Linked DNA regions of Homo sapiens: region 2 is linked to region 1. Evidence: promoter capture Hi-C in 16 types of primary human blood cells and fetal thymus (Javierre and others, 2016). All regions are on one chromosome and are shown on one strand. The core of a region is centred on a gene start or on the middle of the fragment in contact, and the rest is flanking DNA. Distances in the headings are between cores, read along the strand shown. Region 1 holds the start of ATG7 (autophagy related 7). Region 2 overlaps TSEN2 (tRNA splicing endonuclease subunit 2).

Region 1 (4,732 bases), core at 1,742-4,241:
GACAGAGTGAGACTCCATCTCAAAAAAAAAGAAAAAAAAAAAAAGAGGAGAGGAAGACATTAGCGAACGTCATTTCCATGGGTAGAAGTGGACGACAGAGGCAAACTGAATTCCAAATAAAATCAGAGGTCAGGGTTAATCTATTAGAGACACTAGTCAAAGAATTTTGTTACTGCTCAATTCCACACAGCAAATTCATTTCTGCCCTCCCGTCATCAGGATCCTGATTCTTGTCCCCTTCTTCTGTTTCATCCTATCAGTTACCAAGTCCAGCAAATTCCACCTCCTTAATCTCTCAACTCCTCCCACTCCTCTCCATCTCCACTGTCACTGCCTTCATCCAGATCTTCATCCTGTCACCTGGATCACTGCAACTATACCCAACTGGTCCCCTGCTTGTCTTTTTCTGTCCAGTGTAATCACCACATTGCTGCCTGGGTAATTTAAAACAGATGAGAGGATGTCGCATCTGTTTTAAAATCTTCAGTGTCCTGCTCTCCACCCCCGCCCCCACATTTTAGAGTCCAAACTTCTGGGCCTGGCAATATTAATGACTACTGTTTATTGAGTATTTATCATCTACCAGTGTCAAGTGAGTAACATATCACCTCGTACAGTTTTTATTTCCCCTTCTTAGAGATGAGGAAACTGAAGCTTAGAAAGAAGTGACTTGCCCAGGGTCACAAAACTAGTTCAGTGGCAATGGGAATATTGGTACGCAGCTATCTTGGATCCCAAAGTCTATGTGCGGGTAACATGCTATTGTCCACAGGGCCCTTCACGATGTGGCTAGTGCTTACCTTTCCAGTCACCTCTCATCCTACACCTCCACACTGGCACTCCAGTGAACCACAAGCAGGCCATGCATTCTCACCTCTAGCCCTTTGCTCATCTCACTTCGAACCACTCTTCACCTGTCAGATCTCGTTCGTCCTTCAGGTCTTGGCTAAAGCAGCACCTCCTCACTGAAACCTTCTCTGATGAGTCAGCCTGACTTATGCGTACCCTAAGTCCTCCTCTACCAAACCTCCGCAATAGCTTCATGCCATACCGTTGCTATCTCCTTGGCTTAAAAAAAAAGTAAACTCTTTGAGGACAGGGATGTGTATCTTACTCATTTTTGTATTCCCAGCTTGCAGCGCAGTGCCAGACACACAGCTGAAGCTCAATAAATGTTTATTCTCTATAATGAGATGCTGGCTGGGAACGAAAAACGGAACCTGTGGTTGAGTAATGGAAAGTCCAGTACTCAGCTCTTAAAGGATTTCAAAATCATGTCACATGAGGGCAGGAAGGAGTTGGCCAAGATAAATGGAAGAGGAAGGGGAGATGTTCGAAGCAGCAGAAGCAAAGGGCTATAGGTGACACACACCTGCAAGCAGCTTAACAAGACTGGAGCAGCGTTGGGGGATGGGAAAGCAGTTTAGCAACATGAGCCATTCCAAGACTGGACTTTTCTTTATTCAAGTGTTAGGTCACTTCCTCAGGGAAGCCATCCCTGACTAGCTAGCTTTTATGCTTCCCCCCAATTACTGTCCATCCCATGACCCTGTACGTTTCAGAATCGGAAACACCTACCAACCCTTACTGACAATGCCGCCACCGCCACCACCACCACTATTATTAGAAGGTGCCATGAAACAGGGTTCTTTTTCTTCTTATTTTACTGATAGATCACCAGTGCCCACAATAATGCCAGGCACATAACAGGCAAATATTTGTTTTATTCATTCATCCAACAAATATTTATTGAGCATATATAATATGCTAGGCATTGCTCTATATGCTGGGGATATAACAAAACATGACAAAATTTGCTGTCACTGTTAAGTTTACTATGAGCAAATACATTAAATATGCTTAGCCTAGAGAAGAAAAGGTGAGAAGAGGAAGACAAACTAGCAGCTTTCAATGATGTATAGGGCAATTAAATGCAGGGGTGATTCCAAGAGCCTGAAGGAGGAACAGTGAGCTAAGATTACCGAGTAGCTGCTTTCAGCTCAACCTAAGAGTCAGAACTGGGGGAGGACCAAACAGGAGCAACCAGAAGTAGAAAGCTTTCTGTCACTGAAGAAATCTGGCCAGTGGGCAGAGGTGTCAGAGAAAAAAATCTAAGTAGTCAATGAAAAAGGGAGTCTGGGATCCAGAGGTCCCAAACTGACAGCCACAGATATGACTGGTTACAGTTGAACAGGGTTTTGTAAAAACTGAGTTGCCAATGTTTTTAAACGCCAGAATTACTTGCCAATTTTTAAAAAATGGCATCAGTCGCCAGTGTTTAAAAATCAGGAAACTGCACGCACGTGCACACACACACGGTTTGGCTTGTACTTCTCCAACATCATGTACGTTAGTACTGTACTTATAAAATTAGAAGTTTGACTCTATTTCTGACAAATGTTCTAACACCTATATTTACCTTACCGGATTGATTCTTATTGTGCATTAGTTTCTAACCCTGTAACCAAGGAATCGAGAATCTTCTTTCTCAGAAAGTAAACTTATTTAACCTCCTCACTTAAACAAATGGCGGATTATCATTCCCATTTTGCAGATGGAAAAGCAGCTTAGATGGGGAAGGAACGTGCCAGAGACAGCAAATCCAGACACAGCCAGGCTGGGAATCCAAATGTCCCATCTCCCGTGTTCCAACACTGAAGATTCTGAGCACTGCCTACCAAGAGGACAGGAGGGGCTGACTTAGGAAATCAGCACGAGCTTCCAAGTCAGAAGACCCCGGACTGAACCAGTCTGAGGGGACGCGGCTACAGACGAAGGGCGCCAGCCGGAATCAGTGAGTCCCTGGAGGAGGAAGGACCACCCAGAAACTGGCAGAGGAGGATCCTGAGACTTGCTGTGACCCTCGCCCTCCCTGGCGAGCTCGCCCCTTGACTCCAGGCCTCCAAAACCGGCCCAGCAAGACCCCACTACACCCTCGCCCGCCGCGGCTCACTTACCGCCGCTCAACTTCCGGCAACCACAGCTCTCTCTGAGGCGCGCGCCCCGATGACGCAACGCGGTCCTGCCCGCGCTTGCCACTGGGAAGCGGCGCGCGTGCGCAAAGGAGCAGAGGCATGCCGGGGAAATGCGCCCCTAGCACCGAGCTAAGTGGGAGGAACTTGAGTCGTGAGGAGGGCGGGGCATCAGGGGGCGGTGACGCCCCCGGGGGAAGCGATGGAGAGCGTCTCCCTTACCAGATGTCGGAATGTCTACATTCCCTTCAGGCTTTTAAGAAAGTGCCCACGTTCTCTCTTTTGATTTCAGAGGATGACAGGAATGATCACCATGGTCATTCTCCAGGAGAGGCGGCATCAAACGCAGCACAGGGGCCATCAGGGTGGCAGGTGTGGAGAGCCAGGAGATGAGAATTTTAGTAGGAAAAGGCCAGTGAACGTCGACAGTGACCAACCTGCCTTTTCTAAACCAGCCATCATTCTCACAGCTCCTCACTGTCAGTGAGATAAAGTTATTCCCTCTCAATACTTGGTTAGATACTCTGCGCGTGCAAAGCACTGGACAGGTGTTGAAGATACAGCAGTGATTATGACAAGTTTCTCTGTCTGGCCTGTAAGGCCTTTCACAAATTAACTCTGATATACCACTCTAGACTCATAACAACAAGAGCGATGACTGCTATTAATTAACTAGCCACCATGTTTTCAGGGTTTTACATCTCTAATCCTCACAAGAGTCCTGAAACATATCCCCAAGTTATATATGAAAGAACAGAATCTAAGAAAAGTTAGGTGGCTTGCTGAAAGTTAAAGGGCTTTTGGGCCAGGAACGTAATCTGAAGTTTGTTTGATTCTGGCAAATAAGAAAACAAATCCAGACTAATAAGGATACTTATTAGAAAGGATTACTGCAGGCCCGGCGCGGTGGCTCACGCCTGTAATCACAGCACTTTGGGAGGCCGAGGCGGGCGGATCACGAGGTCAGGAGATCGAGACCATCCCGGCTAAAACGGTGAAACCCCGTCTCTACTAAAAATACAAAAAAATTAGCCGGGCGTGGTGGCGGGCGCCTGTAGTCCCAGCTACTTGGGAGGCTGAGGCAGGAGAATGGCGTGAACCCGGGAGGCGGAGCTTGCAGTGAGCCGAGATCCCACCACTGCACTCCAGCCTGGGCGACAGAGCGAGACTCCGTCTCAAAAAAAAAAAAAAAGAAAGGATTACTGCAAGAAGTGAGAGAGGTGGGAGAGAAGGAACCGTGCAATAGCAGAGGGAGACTATTGCAATAGTGAGATCACTCTGACCAAAACATCCGCAGATGTTTCAATGGTTAGGGAAAAAGAGGGTTCCCCCACCCCCCACCCTCCCCAAAGGCAGGTAAACAAGGCTGGAAACAACCGAATATGGGAAGTGGGATGAAGGGGTGGCTTGATCAGATAGTAGATTAGAGAATGTTTTATCTTGAGGCCAACCTATTCTCAGTAGGGGTTGTGTGTGTCAGTCTCTGAGCCCAAGCTAAGCCATCATATCCCCAGTGACCTGCACGTATACATCCAGATGGCTTGCAGCAACTGAAGATCCGCAGAAGTGAAAATAGCCTTAACTGATGACATTCCACCATTGTGATTTGTTTCTGCCCCACCCTAACTGATCAATGTACTTTGTAATCTCCCCCACCCTTAAGAAGGTTCTTTTATAGTCTCCCCCACCCTTAAGAAGTTTCTTTGTAATTCTCACCACCCTTGAGAATGTACTTTGTGAGATCCACCCCCTACCCCCAA
Region 2 (4,874 bases), core at 2,375-4,874, 1.2 Mb before region 1:
TGGTCTGTGGGAAGAAATAGAGTATTTATAAAGCAATAAACTAAAAGCAGTAAGAACAGTTTGTGTGAGCAATGTAAATCATATTGACCTAGAATACTGCAATTAATCCCCACAATAAACCCCAGGAAATGAGTGGTAATCTTTCTACTCCAGCTGACAACGCTGAGACCTAGTGACATGCCCAAAGCTGCAATGTTAGGTCTCCTGAGAGCAAGCACAACAGGATTTCTGTCTACCAGGAGTGCTTCCATTTCACTCACCCAACAGACATTTACTACCAGGAATTCCTAATAATCATAGGTGCTGGGGAGACAAAGACAAAACTGAGACCCTGTCCTCAACAAATTAAATCTTGCAGGCACTTCATTTTCCAAGAGGATCTTACAATACACACTAAACATTGGGTCAATCAGCTCCCAATTTTTAAAGTACATTAATAAATAATAATGACAGCAGCAGTTATTTAAGGGTCGATTATATACTACCAAATGCTACTGGCTTCAAGCAGGGACTCTAAAGCCAGACTATCAGCATCAGAATCAACTTTACCACTTCCTAGCAGTGTGATTTTGGGCAAAAGTCACTGACTCTCTCTGTGATTTAGTTTCCTCACCTGCAAAATCAAGATAAGAACGACTCTATCTTACAGTTAAGATCCATAAAGTGCTTAGAACAGTACCTGGCACATAGCGTGTACCATTCATGTATCAGCTATAATTAGTATTACAGGGTGAGCAGTAGCAACACCATTTTACAAATAGGAAACAGATTCAGGTTAGAGAGATTTGTAGACGACCCCGAGTGTGGTGGCATCGGGTGACCCAGGTCTGTTGAACTCCCAAGCCCATGCCCTCTCTCTAGATTCTGCTGAAAGCACAGGCAGGGTCTATCTACTTTTGTCTGATGACTCTTTCTCAAAATCAGACGGTGAAGGGTTATTGAGCAGTAACGGAATTACCCACTGTGCACCCAGCACCATGAGGGAGAACAGAAAGCCAAAGCCAGTACGTGTCCCTCTGGGGCCATACATTGGATCCAAGGAGACAAAACAAGTATATAACATAGCTGGAAGCACAGAAAGCAGGTTGGAGCTAACGGAACTGGCTGTTATCCACTAATGTCTAAAGGAGGGAAGTAAATGTGAACATATTGTGTGATGCAGACACAGAGATACAGTAGATGCACTTAACCTAGGAAAACGTAACCATATACATGGGAAAACAATGTAAATGGTGCAAGACATTCCACTCGAGGAGCAGCTGTCCTGGAATGAGATGGGAAACTTGAATCTGCTGCTCCCCCAGTACTAGGTCTAGACTTGATTTCAACTGAGAGCTTACCTGGTGCTTGAAGATACAGTGCGGCCAAATCATACACACGTTTAACCTACATGACTCCGAATCCTCACAAGGGAAAAAATAAGACTAATTACTTAGGTGGCTCCTGCACTCAGTACTTGCATCCCATTGGCAAGGGATGCCATCAAGCCTGAAACAGTCAAGAAGGTGGCCAAAACTGAGGGAGGGGAAGGTGAGTGGCTTTAAGAGTGTCATGACCATTAAGAAAAGGCTTATCCAACGTGTGATGATATCAGTATCCAACTTCTCAAGGAAGAAGCTGAGGAATTATATGAGGACACAGAAAAACACAGACTAAAGAGGAGTTAGAGGAAATGATACATCAATTACAAAGATAACCATGAAAAAGAAGAATCGGGAAGTTGGAACCTTCCTAGAATTGCCATTGTTCTAAGCAGCAACATGCTAGATTAATTTCTAAATAAGGTTCCTTGAAGGAATTACATACTGAGCATTACTTTGTACATTTTATATTTATGCATGCATCTTGCTGTATAGTGTTTATAACAAAACCACGTCTACTGCATGCTCACAGGAAACCTAAGAGATTTTCTTAAGAGCATATTTAGACTAGGCTTTACCTTGCTTGCTGACTTATCCCTCAGCCCAAGTACTAAATTATCACATTTAGTACTCAATTGGAGAGACAATAATTTATTCTAAAACTGAAAATAAACACTGCTTTTTGGGGGCAGGATGTTGGTCTCTAGTAAGGCACTTTTTGAAAGACTTCCAGGAATGGTTTGGACTTTTATGGGATTTTTCACTTTTATAACCTCTGCTCAGCAGCTGACTTATATACATTACATTCGGAATTTTAAAAAAATGAAAAAAGATTTAATGGCCACCTTCAAGAAGTTCTAATAAATTCTCTCAACAAATAAGAGTTGTATTTTAGTCTGCCTCATTTGTTCAGCGTTTTTCCCTCTCAGACTGCTGTCACATCTAAAAAAGGCAAGATTTAGCTGTGACACTTGATCGAAAGAACTCTGTACTCCAACCCAGGTGTGTGGGATGGAAGGGTCCCTGCGACAAAACACCCCTCATAATCCAAGTTCTTGTGTTACTCTTGCTCATGTGGCTGCACACCCCTCAGGAATTTGGCTCGCAGTAGGCCTTCCAGACATGCAAAGCCGCCATTATTATTGTGTGACCTTGCACAACCCACTTTCTCTAAGCCCAGTTTCATCTTCAAATCGAACAGGACTGGAGGAGTCTGGCAGTTCCTCAAAATGTCAAACACATAGTTACGACATGATCCAGCAACTCCACCCCTAGGTATAGACCTAAGAGAAATGAAAACATATGTTCATGGAAAAATTTGTATGTGAATGTTCACAACAGTATTATTCATAATAGCATCAAAGTGGAAGCCATCCAAATGTCCATCAATAGTTGACCAGATCAACAAAATGTGGTCTATCCATATAATCAAATACTTAGCCATAGAAAAGGAATGAAGTTCGGATACATTCTTCAACACCTGAAAGCATTATGCTAAAAGAAGTCAGACACAAAAGACCACGAGACAATTAAGATAAAGTTTCCGGAATAGACAAATCCATAGAGACAGATTACCAGTTGCCAGAGACAGGGAAAAGTGGGAAATGGGGGGGCGACTGCTAATAAGACAGGAGGTTTATTTTGGAGGGTGACGAAAATGTTTTAAAATTAGATTGTAGTGATGGTAATGGTTACATAACTCCGCGAATACGAAGACCACTGACTCGTACATTTCAGAAGGGTGACTTTTACAGAATTATATGGTATCTCAATAAAGCTATTTTAAAAAATTCAGAAGTAAAGACATTCCCCAGGCCATGTCCTGCAAGAATGACTTCACAGATACCAGCGTGAAGCTTCTAGAAAAGATAGAAAGAAACCCTCAGGGAAGGTAGAGCTCACTTCCCCAGGGGGAAAAATTCAAGAGGACAAATCAGATGATCTCTAGTTTCATGGAAGAGTCCTCCTGTGCTGAACTCGAAAGGCAAAGCAGAGGAGAAAAGACTGCATTTACCATTCCCCATATCTGCAATGGATATTCAAGAAGGTTCTTTAGTGTCGCGGCAGAACAGCATGCTGTAAGAGGTGGGATGTGAGTAAAATAAGAAGAGGAAACTGTCATAGGTAGGTACCAGATGCCAGAGGCACTCACTGCATGTGCTGCACATGTGGGTACTATAGTCATCCCTTGGTATCCACAGAAGGACTGGTTCCAGGACTCACCCCCTACCAAAATCCGCAGCTCAAGTCCCTTAAATAAAATGTAGTATTTGCATGTAACTTATGCCCATCCTCCCATCTACTTTAAGTCTTCTCTAGATTACTTAGAATACCTAATACAATGTAAATACTAAATAATTGTTATATATATATATTTTTAAATTTCTTTTTCCAAATATTTTTGATGCAACATTGGTTGAATCCACAGATTCGGAACCTGATAGCGAGAGCTGACTGTACTATCCTCATTCCACAGATATGAAAGAAGAGCGGTGCCTGAGGTGCACAAAAACATATAGGAAAGACTGGGTCAGTTGTCAAGAGGTTTGGGATGCAAAGGTTGGTTTGGAATTGGAGTCACTGCAGGTTATTTAGAATGATGATTGAAAAATGCAGATTAAGAAAATTAAACCTGGGAGTGGTACATCACACAGTGGCCCTCAAGCTTACCTACCCTTAACTCCTCATGCCCAGGCCTCACCTGCAATCAATTACATCAGAATTTCCTGGGTGGACCCAGCTGATTTTAACATATAGCTAACCACTGGTAACAGCAAGGTCTATTCAAATTCACTTAATCCCAGTAGCCCCCGGAGGTAAAGACTATTTTTATTTCCATTGTACAGATGTGGAAAGTGACTCGGAGGGGCCGGGCGCACCCCTGAGAAATCTTTACTTCTTATTTCCCCAACCTGCGCAACCTGACTCCAGAGCTGCATATTCTTACTTTCTATTAAAAGCAGAGTCTGTTTCTTATTCTTCCCTCGAGCACACAGGCTAACACCTCTTAGGTGATGGTAAATGTCTATTAGAAAAACAAAAAAGGGAGAGGTGGCTCCATTTAATTTTCCAACCTTCCTGGACTAGGTGCCAAACAAACCTGGTTAAAAAACCTCCTACCCAGCAAATCTCACCTTCTCCCAACCAAAACACGCTTCAAGCTCCATCTGCGCACCTCCTGGGCTTAGGGAGGCAAGGATGAAAGGCACAAGGTAAACAATCCTGCCTCTGGGGAGCTTTCAAGTTAGAACCTGAGAATAAGCCATATAAACAGATGACCAGCCTTTGAAAGTTGTTGTCAGGATTAAATGCATAATTTTGCAGAAGGCGTTTCGTTCGGGGCCTACCACGTGGAAAGCGCTCACCAGACGACAGCTGCAAATAAAATAAACTGCGCACCCCAACAGCGTTAGGGGCCCCGCCAATTCCTAACTCCCTGTCTTACCCCTTTGCTTCTTTCCTTGACTACCCCCACACCCGACCGAACTCCACCAGAGGCTGCGGCTCCTCTCG

What was found. Contacts are between HindIII fragments. The CHiCAGO score rates a contact against its expected background, and 5 or more counts as called.
Region 2: a fragment that was not itself captured here is called in contact with the fragment with the promoter of ATG7 in region 1 in 2 of 17 cell types (fetal thymus and non-activated CD4 T cells); the score reaches 8.0 in fetal thymus.

The regions. Positions count from the first base shown.
Region 1 is chr3:11,270,656-11,275,387 of GRCh38, reverse strand. ATG7 (autophagy related 7) reads right to left here and starts at 2,991. Exons shown (of 21, transcript NM_001349232.2): 1 at 2,958-2,991. RefSeq lists enhancers at 2,206-2,795, 2,944-3,073, 2,796-3,387, 3,344-3,393. The HindIII fragment of the contact is 2,908 bases long and covers 2,060-4,732 here.
Region 2 is chr3:12,484,813-12,489,686 of GRCh38, reverse strand. It overlaps TSEN2 (tRNA splicing endonuclease subunit 2), which reads right to left. Exons shown (of 12, transcript NM_025265.4): 1 at 4,807-4,874. Among named protein-coding and RNA genes, the nearest start is that of TSEN2, 2.8 kb to the right of the region's middle. RefSeq lists an enhancer at 4,864-4,874. The HindIII fragment of the contact is 809 bases long and covers 3,220-4,028 here.